Linked DNA regions of Homo sapiens: region 2 is linked to region 1. The links are contacts of gene promoters, found by promoter capture Hi-C in human tissues and cell types (Jung and others, 2019). All regions are on one chromosome and are shown on one strand. Each heading gives the region's core, a stretch centred on a gene start or on the middle of the fragment in contact. The rest is flanking DNA. Distances are from core to core; before and after follow the strand shown.

Region 1 (4,663 bases), core at 704-3,203:
AATTCCCCGTGGGGAAGAGCGAGTTAGACCCAGGCGGGACAGTGGGCACCCTTCAGTATGGATCCGGCCCTTGTCAATACAGGGAGGTAGCAAGGACCCCAGAGTCAGGGGTGGCCTCACAGACCCCACCCAGGAAAGTTTCAGGCCTGAGGCCGTGAGGGAGGGCCCACAGCGGGGGGTCTCCAGCCACAGGGCCAGGGTGCTTTTGTGGGCGCCCACCCTCCCAACACACACATGCAGGTGCACACACACACAAACCACACCACAACTCCTATGCAGGCACGCATACACAAAGACGCACTCACACTCATCCACACACAGCGGCACACAGTGTCCTGACTCACCAACCCCCAGGCTCACACCCTCCTGTTCCACTTCTTTCTTCAGGGACAGAATGACCAGCCCTAGGCTCAGGCAGGCCTGGTGCTGAGAAAAGGAGGGGCTCACCCGGGAACACGGACACCTCAACCTCGACAATGGGATCATGAAAGTCTCGGAGCCACGGTGTATCCACCCCACACCAGTAGGTGCCTGCGTCCTCCTCTGTGAGATTCTCCAGGGTCACTGTGAAGCTGAGGTTTGCAGGACTGTCCCTGATGGACACTCGGCCATTCCTTTTCCCTGCTGACCCTTTGGTCTCCACAATCTTGTCACATCGGAGAATCTGTGGTGGTCTGCACCAGAATTTGTTGAGGGTCCTGTGTTCCTTCTCATAGCGACACTGCACACTCAGGGATCCCCCCACGGGGCCCGCCACGGTCATGGGGTGGCTCAGAGGAAAATAGCCTGAAAAATACAAGCCAAAATCCTGTCTCCTTACCAGAGGGGCCTGGTCAGGGGTGCCGCAGTGTCAGCCCCTCATGGACCCTGGGCGTGTGGAGAAGGCAATGGCAGGCAGGCAGCCTTTGTCCACCCAGGAACAGGGACTGAGGGTGGGAGGCTCCCTCTGTGCAGAGGTGGGAAGGGCATGGGAAGTTTCCATGGAGACTGGAAAGGCAAGGCTAGGGAAACACTGGGTGTGTGCGGGCCTGTGTGTGCATGTGAGTGTGACTCTGTGTGTGTGACTGTGTGAGTGTGACTGTCTGTGTGAGTGTGACTGTGTGTGACTGTGTGTGCATGTGTGACTGTGTGTGCATGTGAGTGTGACTGTGTGTGCATGTGTGACTGTGTGCATGTGTGTGTGAGACTGTGTGAGTGTGACTGTGTGTGCATGTGTGTGAGACTGTGTGAGTGTGACCGTGTGTGCGTGTGAGTGTGACTGTGTGTGTGATCGTCCCAGATAAAATTTGTGATTGGATAACTTTGGCAATGACAGTCACAGCATCACCTCCCACCAGGGCTTCCTGTCTCGGGCACAGAGGAATAGGCCTCCCCCGTGCTGTGCCCTGCCGCCTGCTGTCCCCTGGTGAGGCAGCTGCTGACCGCTCCTGGGTGCTCCTTTGCCCTCCTCCCCTCTCCCTGCCCCACTCCCCTCTATGACCGCTACTCCAGCGCCTGCACCCCTCCCTGCCCTCTCCCACTCAGGACAGAGCTCCCCAAGTCCAGGGTCGGCCCACTCACCTGGGACAAGCAGGAGGAGCAGAGCTGAAGACCGCCACGAGGCCCAGGCCCTGGCAGTCATTCCTGTAACACGAATGTCACCTGCCACTGTGCAAGACCCCAGGAGGGGACAAAATGTAATCTCCTCCCAGCAGATCTGAGCTTCGCTTCTGCTTTTCTTCTGCTCTCTGCTTCCTTGTCCAGCCCTGTCTCAGGTCTGAGGCTGGAGAGGGTCAGGGTACAGGAAGCTCAGGGAGAGAGCCGCCTGGGCTGAGGCCGGTGCTGACAGCTCTGGGATGGTGCTAGTGGCTCCTCTCAACCCTGACGTCTGGCAAAGTCCAGGGTCCCTTGGGTGGCGATGCAGCCACTTCCCCACAGCCCACAGCTTCTGGCTTCAGTGTGTTACTCACACTGCAGAAGGCAGAGCCAAGCTGGGCCATTTCCTACCACATGGGCTGCTCCACCCTCTGTGACATGTCACTTCCTGGTCAGGATGGACAATCTTGTGGTTGGAGGCTAAATCTGCCACCTTCTTTAGCCTTGGAGGTGACCAGAGAGAGGTTGTGTCCCTTAATCTTCAGCTAGGTCCCCGCAGAGACCTCTGCCCCTAAGACCCCCAGCTCTTCTTCTGGCCTCAGAAGTTAGCGCTATGAACCCAGACACCATCTGCATGTCCCTTTTTGGTGCTGAGTCCCCAACCAGGTTAAAATCCCACAGGCTTGGGGAGTTTTCCTCTTGTGCCCCTGCCCCCAGACCTACACACACAGCGGCATCACCCACCCGAGACCCTCCTTTTCCATCTTGTCTTCTTGCCAAAATCCATGCCCCAGTGGGAATCAGGGCAGAGAACTGAGAATAGAGAGAGAGTTCAGACATGTGAAGATGCTGAAGTGGGACTTTGTGGAGGATGTGAGGCTGCGACTGAGCCAGCACACACCCCAGGGCACACGGAGGGGTGTTTGGTGACTGAGAGGACAGTTTGTCATGAGCAGCGGCTGCTGGTGTCTATCCTGGGTCCACTGTGATGGCCAGGGGCCTCCGCAGGGAGCAGACATGGCAGACAGGCCTTCCCAGGAGGCGGGAACCCAGGTCTATCCACACTCGGCATGGCTGGTTCTCCTGACGTGATGGGCTCAGGGTGTCTTTACCCTGGAAAGGGCAAGGAGGCTAGTCAGACACAGGATTTACCTCCTGTCTGTCCTGGAGGGCATCACCCCTTCTCCACCTTCTCATGCCTTAAGCATATTCCTTGACTCTCCCAACCCTCCTACAGATTTCTGTTCCTTTCTTCCTATCAGAGTCAATAGCACCAGTATGTGCACACAGCCATGAGGTTGAGTGGAGAGTGATGGGAGTCTGGGCAAACCTGGCACCATGAAGGGGTCTCTGCACCCTCGACCTGCCCTGTCCTCCCTCCATTTACACTCTCAGGGACACAGCATGCACTGGGGTCATTGGTGTTGATGCCCCCAGACTCACATCATGGGACTATCTCTAGCCCAGTGCAATCCCAGGGCCTCCAATTAGCCCAGTGCTCAGGTCTGGCCTGGGCCTGGCTTTGAAGTATCCCGGCTCTTTCATGGGCTGACCTGGTCTCCCCTTCTGCTCATACCCACCCCTTTCATTCTCCACAGAATCAGCAATGTGATCCCTGACACACACACATGGCCCTGGGGAGGCGCTGCTGAACTCCCAATGGCTCCTGCTGTCACAGGATGGCACCCACCTGACCTGGCCTCTGCACACAGGTCCTGGCAGGCCCCAGCACCTGGTAGGTGTCTCCAGCCTCCTGGATCCAGGTTCACACTGGTGCTGCCACCCTCCCCACTCGGGCCTTTGTCCAGACCCTCAACCTCCCACTCCTCTGCCTGGCTCCAGCCGACAGGGTTGCCTGCGTGTTCCTTGACCTTCCCGGGTTATGGTGGCTCGCTTTTTAGGGGTCCTCATGACCCATTTCACACTTCCCTCTCGTCTTCCTCAGTCTTTCTGTTGGCGAGTCAATGTCTGCTCCCATCTAGGGTGGCCGCCCCTTGAGAGCAGGTGCAGCCTCTTGTCTCATTCACAGCTGTGCCCGTTATCATTCCAGAGTCTGCCAAGTGCAGTTTAACAAACTGGCTGTTGAAAGGATGAATGGGTGAATGGATACATGACATCCTGATGTCCCACTGCCTCAGAGGACTTAGTCATCCAAAGTTGGTGCACCATTTCCTGCCCAGGCTGGGGAGGAGACAGGAAATGCTGTCTGGAGGCCCTGAAGCCACCTGACCCAGGGAGGCATCTGCCCCTGGCAGGACATGTGCACCTGCTCCTCTCTCTGCCTCAGGGCTCCTCCTCCAGGGATCCTGGCGCTCACCCCCTCCTTTCTCCTGATCCCTGCTTGCTCAGCGCCTATTAGAGGGGCTTCACCACAGTCCCCCTCAGCTCCTGCACAGCAGTCACCCCACTTCTCTTATTTCATTCCGTGACTCTTTTCATCTCTGACTTTTATATTTCTTCTGGAATTTATGCACGTATTTTTGCATCTGTTTATCATTTCTATCCCCCGCCTGGAATATGAGCTCAATGAAAACAGAGCTCCTTGCCTGGGTGTTCACGGCTGGACTCCAATGCCAGGTCAGTGTCTGATACACCAGAAGCTCCCATAAGTATCTGCTGAATGTAAAAATAGGTGAGGACCCCCAGGCGTGTCCCTCCTTGACCTGGTGGACTCATGGGGATCATCTGCCTCACAGGGGTCTTGGGTGTGGCATCCCTGGAACCGAAACGATGGTCAGCTGATAACGTCTTCCTTTGTCTGGATAAGCAGACATGGTCTGCACTAGTAAGCAAAAGACTCAGTTAACTACCACATTAAGAAGTCACGGCCCTCAACCAATTTCCATATTTGAGTCAGTTAAAAGCCACAGCCCTGGAATGAAGGGGAGGTCAGGTCCCCTTGAGGAAGGAGGAAGGAAAGGCCTGGCTACCATGCCACAACTCACACTGATAATCTTCTACCAGCCCTCCCGCAGGGACCAGAAGACACTGGCCAGGATGTGTCTACATAAGGAACGGAATTGTCAGGTTTTGGGGGGAATCCTGGATCCTCTTCTGCAGGGACCCCAGTCCTGAGAGGCCCAGCCTG
Region 2 (4,663 bases), core at 960-3,459, 160 kb before region 1:
CCCTGGCCGGCCTGGTAGCCTGGCCCCACCCTCTGAGGCTCTTCTTGCTTGGGCCCCCTTGCCCCACTTCTTTCTTTCTTTTTTTTTTTTTTTTAAGACAGAATCTTGCTCTGTCTCCCAGACTGGAGTGCAGTGGCACAATCTCGGCTCACTGCAACCTCTGCTTCCTGGGTTCAAGCAATTCTCCTGCCTCAGCCTCCATGTAGCTGGGACTACAGGCGCCCACCACCACGCCCAGCTAATTTTTGTATTTTTAGTAGAGACAGGGTTTCGCCATGTTGGCCAGGCTGATCTCAAACTCCTGACCTCTGGTGATCCTCCCACCTTGGCCTCCCAAAGTGCTGGGATTACAGGCGTGAGCCACTGCACCTGGCCTATTTATTTATTTATTTATTTGAGGCTGAGTCTCGCTCTGTCGCCCAGGCTGGAGTGCTGTGGAGTGCTCCCTGCAACCTCCGCCTCCTGGGTTCAAGCGAATCTCCTGCCTCAGCCTCCCGAGTAGCTGGGACTACAGGTGCCCACCACCACACCTGGCTAATTTTTTCTATTTTTAGTAAAGATGGGATTTCACCATGTTAGCCAGGCTGGTCTCGAACTCCTGACCTCAAGTGATCTGCCCGCCTCGGCCTCTCAAAGTGCTAGAATTACAAGCATGAGCCACCGCGCCCAGACTCCCTTTGCCCTTCTTCTGATGCCAAGGGGCGCAGGGTCCTGTCCTTACAGGGCTCGAGTGGCTGCATGTGAGGAGGCTGCTCCACACCAGTGTCCACGCCAGAGCTCGGCTCAGTGGCCTGGAGGAAGCTCCCACGGTGATGTGGAGTCTCCAGCTGCTCTCCTGCCCGTGGACTTTCCACCTCATATTTCTGGAGTTCTGGACTCTCACCAGCTCTTCCACACTCCCTCACTCCTCTACTCCAACGTGGAAATAAACAGAGAACATGAATGAGAAGGCGCAAAGGCCATGATTCAGGGCTTGCTGGGTAACAAGGGGGCAGCCACCACCACCTGTGTTTGAGAGGGACTCAAAGGCGGGCGGGGTAGGGAAGCTCTCGGGTGGCGTAAGCCAAAAAGTATCTGTGACAGAACTCCATCGATTCAGAGGATTATTTGCCAAGGTCGAGGACGCGCCAGAGGAAGAGAAACACGAGTTGCAGTAGGATCTGTGGCCTGTGCTTTTTCCCAGGAGATTTGAGGACTTCAACATTTAAAGAGGGGGCTGGCCGCGGTGGCTCATGCCTATAATCCCAGCACTTTGGGAGGCTGAGGCAGGAGGATCACCTGAGGTCAGGAGTTTGAGACCCGGCTGGCCAACATGACGAAACTCCGTCTCTACTAAAAATACAAAAATTAGCTAGGCGTGGTGGCAGGCACCTGTAATCCCAGCTACTTGGGAGGCTGAGGCAGGAGAATCTCTTGAATCCAGGAGGCAGAGGTTGCAGTGAGCCGAGATCACGATACTGCACTCCAGCCTGGGCGACAAGAGCAAGACTCCGTCTCAAAAAAAAAAAAAAAATTTAAAGAGGGAAGAGCAGGAAGGAAGGGAAGGAAGAAAGGACAAAGGGAGGGAGAGCAGGCAGCAGGGGAAGGAAAAGGAAAAGGGAGGGAGAGCAGGCAATGAGGGAAGTTGTTATGTTCCTGTGAGGCTTTGATTAGTACTCACTGAATCCACATTTTACACAGGAAAAGAGGTGTGCTTAATAAATATATGTTTTACGTAAGATAAAGTAAGCATGTGAGATGACAGCTGGCTATTTGGGAACAAAAGGAAGGTAAGTTTTTGTTTGTTTTTGTGTGACTCAGCCAGGCATGGGGGCTCCCACCTGTTATCCCAGCACTTTGGGAGGCCGAGGCAGGGGGCTCACTTGAGCCTAAGAGTTCAAGACCAGCCTGGGCAACATGGCAAAACCCCATCCCTACAAAAAATACAAAAAATTAGCAGAGTGTGGTGGCATGCACCTGTAGTCCTACCTACTTGGGAGGCTTGAGGTGGGAGGATCACCTGAGCCGGGAGGTCAAGGATGCAGTGAGCTGTGATCGTGCCTCTGAATGCCAGCATGGGTGAGAATGAGACCCTGAAAAAAAAGAAGAAGAAGGAGAAGAAAGAAAAAAGAGAGAGAAGAAAGGAAAGAAAGAAAGAGAGAAAGAAAGGAAGAAAGAAGGAAAGAAGGAAAAGAAAGAAAGAAAGAAAGAAAGAAAGAAAGAAAGAAAGAAAGAAAGAAAGAGAGAAAGAGAGAAAGAAAAGAACAGAAAAAAAGGAAGAAGGAAAGGAGGGGAGGGGAGGGGAGGGGGAAAGGAAAGGGAAGCTTCAGGTTTACCTTGATGGAGGCTGTGGGCCTAGGAAGCTGGAAGCAGCTCACTAGAAGAGGACAGGGCATCCTATGGGATTGGTTAGAGGGGCATACTTGGCTTTACTTTTTTTTTTTTTTTTTTGAGACAGTGTCTCACTCTGTTGCCCAGGCTGGAGTGCAGTGGTGCCATCTGGGCTCGCTGCAGCCTCAACTTCATGGGCTCAAGCAATCCTCCCACCTCGGCCTCCCAGGTAGCTGGGACTACAGGTGTGTGCCACCACACCTGGCTAATTTTTATATTTTTTGTAGAGATGGGGTCTCACTACATTGCCCAGGCTGGTCTCAAATTCCTGGGCTCAAGAGATCCACCCGCATTAGCCTCCCAAAGTGCTGGGATCATAGGTGTGAGCCCCTGCATCCAGCCCATATTTGGCTTTTTCTTGGAAATGGGGATAAATTGGAAGCAGGGATGAGAATTAGGGAAACTGTCGATTACAAATCAAGTCCTGGCCAAGTGGAGTCAATTGGTTGACTTCTTGGACCAGTCATTAGAACTGATCGCCTGACTTCCGCAAGTATGACTTGTAGCTAGCAGACAGCAGGCTGGCTTCCTGGGCTGGTCGTTGTAGAGGATGGCGGGGCTTCCTGGGCTGGTTGCTGCAGATTGTGGGTCAGAGATCTATTTTTATGTCTGGTCTGGCCGCTGGCCATTTGTAGAGTCAGTCTCTCACCAGCAATCTGTGATTATCATCCTAGTTTTTCAGACAAGTAAACTGGGAATCAGAAAAGTGAGCTGACGTAGCTAAGGTCACAGAACTAGTAAGTTTCAGAACCTGGACAGGAATCTGCCGGTCTCAGCCTTCCGCAGGCAAAGTTCACAGCTGACTCATTTTTGCCTCCTTGTCTCCCACTCTTAATTACCCCAGTACTTTGGGCATGTTCTCAATAAGTATTTATTGAATGAATGAATACAAATTTTTATGACGTCAGTGAGGAAACCAGAGAGGAAAGCCAGAAGAGAGTGAGGGGTCTTCGCTGAGGAGGCCCCTGTAATGAGAACGACGCCGCTGGGTTCTCTTGGCCACCTCTTCTCTGGCATCCTGCAAGAATCCCAGGTCCTTGGTTGGAGCCTGGAACCACTGGCTGAGAGACTTGTGGGTCTGGGCCAGCTTGGCCAGGAGGGACCTGGCGTTGGTTTGGAAGGGTGAGAGTCGGGGGAGCCTGCACCCCACGGGGTTACATTGTTATAATTAACATACTGGGGACGGCTGTCGGATCTCACTGAGAGGAGGGGCAGTCAATGGTGGGGAAGGGCACTTCCTCCCAGGAGCCGCCTGGGGATCCAACCAGGTGGGGAGGGTCAGGAGCCTCAGGCACTACGGAAGGCAGAATTCTAAGCCCGTCCCATGGACTCCATCCCTGTCCCCAGAGTTACTCCCTTGACCATATTATAGGGCTACACAGTGAAAGGGATTTATGGTGTAAGAACGGTACCCCAGGGAAACAGCGGTGGCTGGGGAGGTCAGGTGGACCTGGGGGGCCAGGTGTCCAGGCTGCCTGTCCCACCATGTCCCGGACTGGCCTCATGGCCCTAGGCCCCTCCCTAAGCCCCAGTTTCTACATCTGCGAAGTGAGGCGCTGGCCCAAGTAATCTAACCCTACCTGTTGTGATCCAGATTCTTTTGAGCCCCAGGGAGGCCAGGATTAAGGCCGGCTCCCCTGGGTTCCAGCCGATCAGGGGAGTGTGGGTGGTTTCTCGGGCCTGTGGAAGGAAAGAAGCCGAAGAAATCACTCTTGAAAAGTGGCCGCTATACGAGCGGGCTGGCTGGGTGATCCCTGTGGCATTCTGGTCCCTCTCCCTCCTGCCTCAGTTCCTCTATGACCTCAAGATGGAAGAGCCACACCTACAAAGAAAAAAAGACTATCTGTGAGAAACAGGTGTGCGTGTTGATTTTTCCAAGGGCTTGGCTCAGCTTTGGGCTGAAAATCCCCAGGCCATCCACAAGGGGTGTGGTCACAACCCAATAAAGACTTCAGTCTCAGAGCCTGGGACCATCCCATCAACCACAAAATATTATACAGGAGGAGCATGAGCCAGGGAGGGGAGTTGGCCCCTCACCGCCCCCACCTCAGTAGGTGGCCCTTCTGACTCTGCGCTGCTGCTGCAGGAGATGGCAACACGAGGGTCTCCGCATGCAGCCTGCAGGCGTCTCAGCTTCATGTCCTCAGCCTCCTCTCTTCCTTCTTTTCTCCAGAAAGGAGGCCAGCAGAAGGCTTGGGCCCTGAAAGCTAAAGGGAAAGGAATGCAACCTGGGCTGGGCAGGAGCAGAAGGAGAGAGGAAAACAGTAGAGGGTTTTTTTGTTTTGTTTTGTTT

The links. The method cuts DNA at HindIII sites, captures the fragments that hold promoters and counts their contacts. A contact is called where the count stands out against the background at its distance.
Region 2: a fragment that was not itself captured here is called in contact with the fragment with the promoter of CD300C in region 1 in 1 of the 25 tissues and cell types used here (thymus).

What each region holds. Positions count from the first base shown.
Region 1 is chr17:74,544,162-74,548,824 of GRCh38, forward strand. It overlaps CD300C (CD300c molecule), which reads right to left and starts at 1,954. Exons shown (of 4, transcript NM_006678.5): 1 at 1,561-1,954; 2 at 448-786. The coding sequence starts at 1,621. It also overlaps a transcript of LOC107985074 not described here. The HindIII fragment of the contact is 17,316 bases long and covers 698-4,663 here.
Region 2 is chr17:74,383,570-74,388,232 of GRCh38, forward strand. No RefSeq gene overlaps it. Among named protein-coding and RNA genes, the nearest start is that of GPR142, 18 kb to the left of the region's middle. RefSeq lists an enhancer at 3,197-4,091. The HindIII fragment of the contact is 6,667 bases long and covers 1-4,663 here.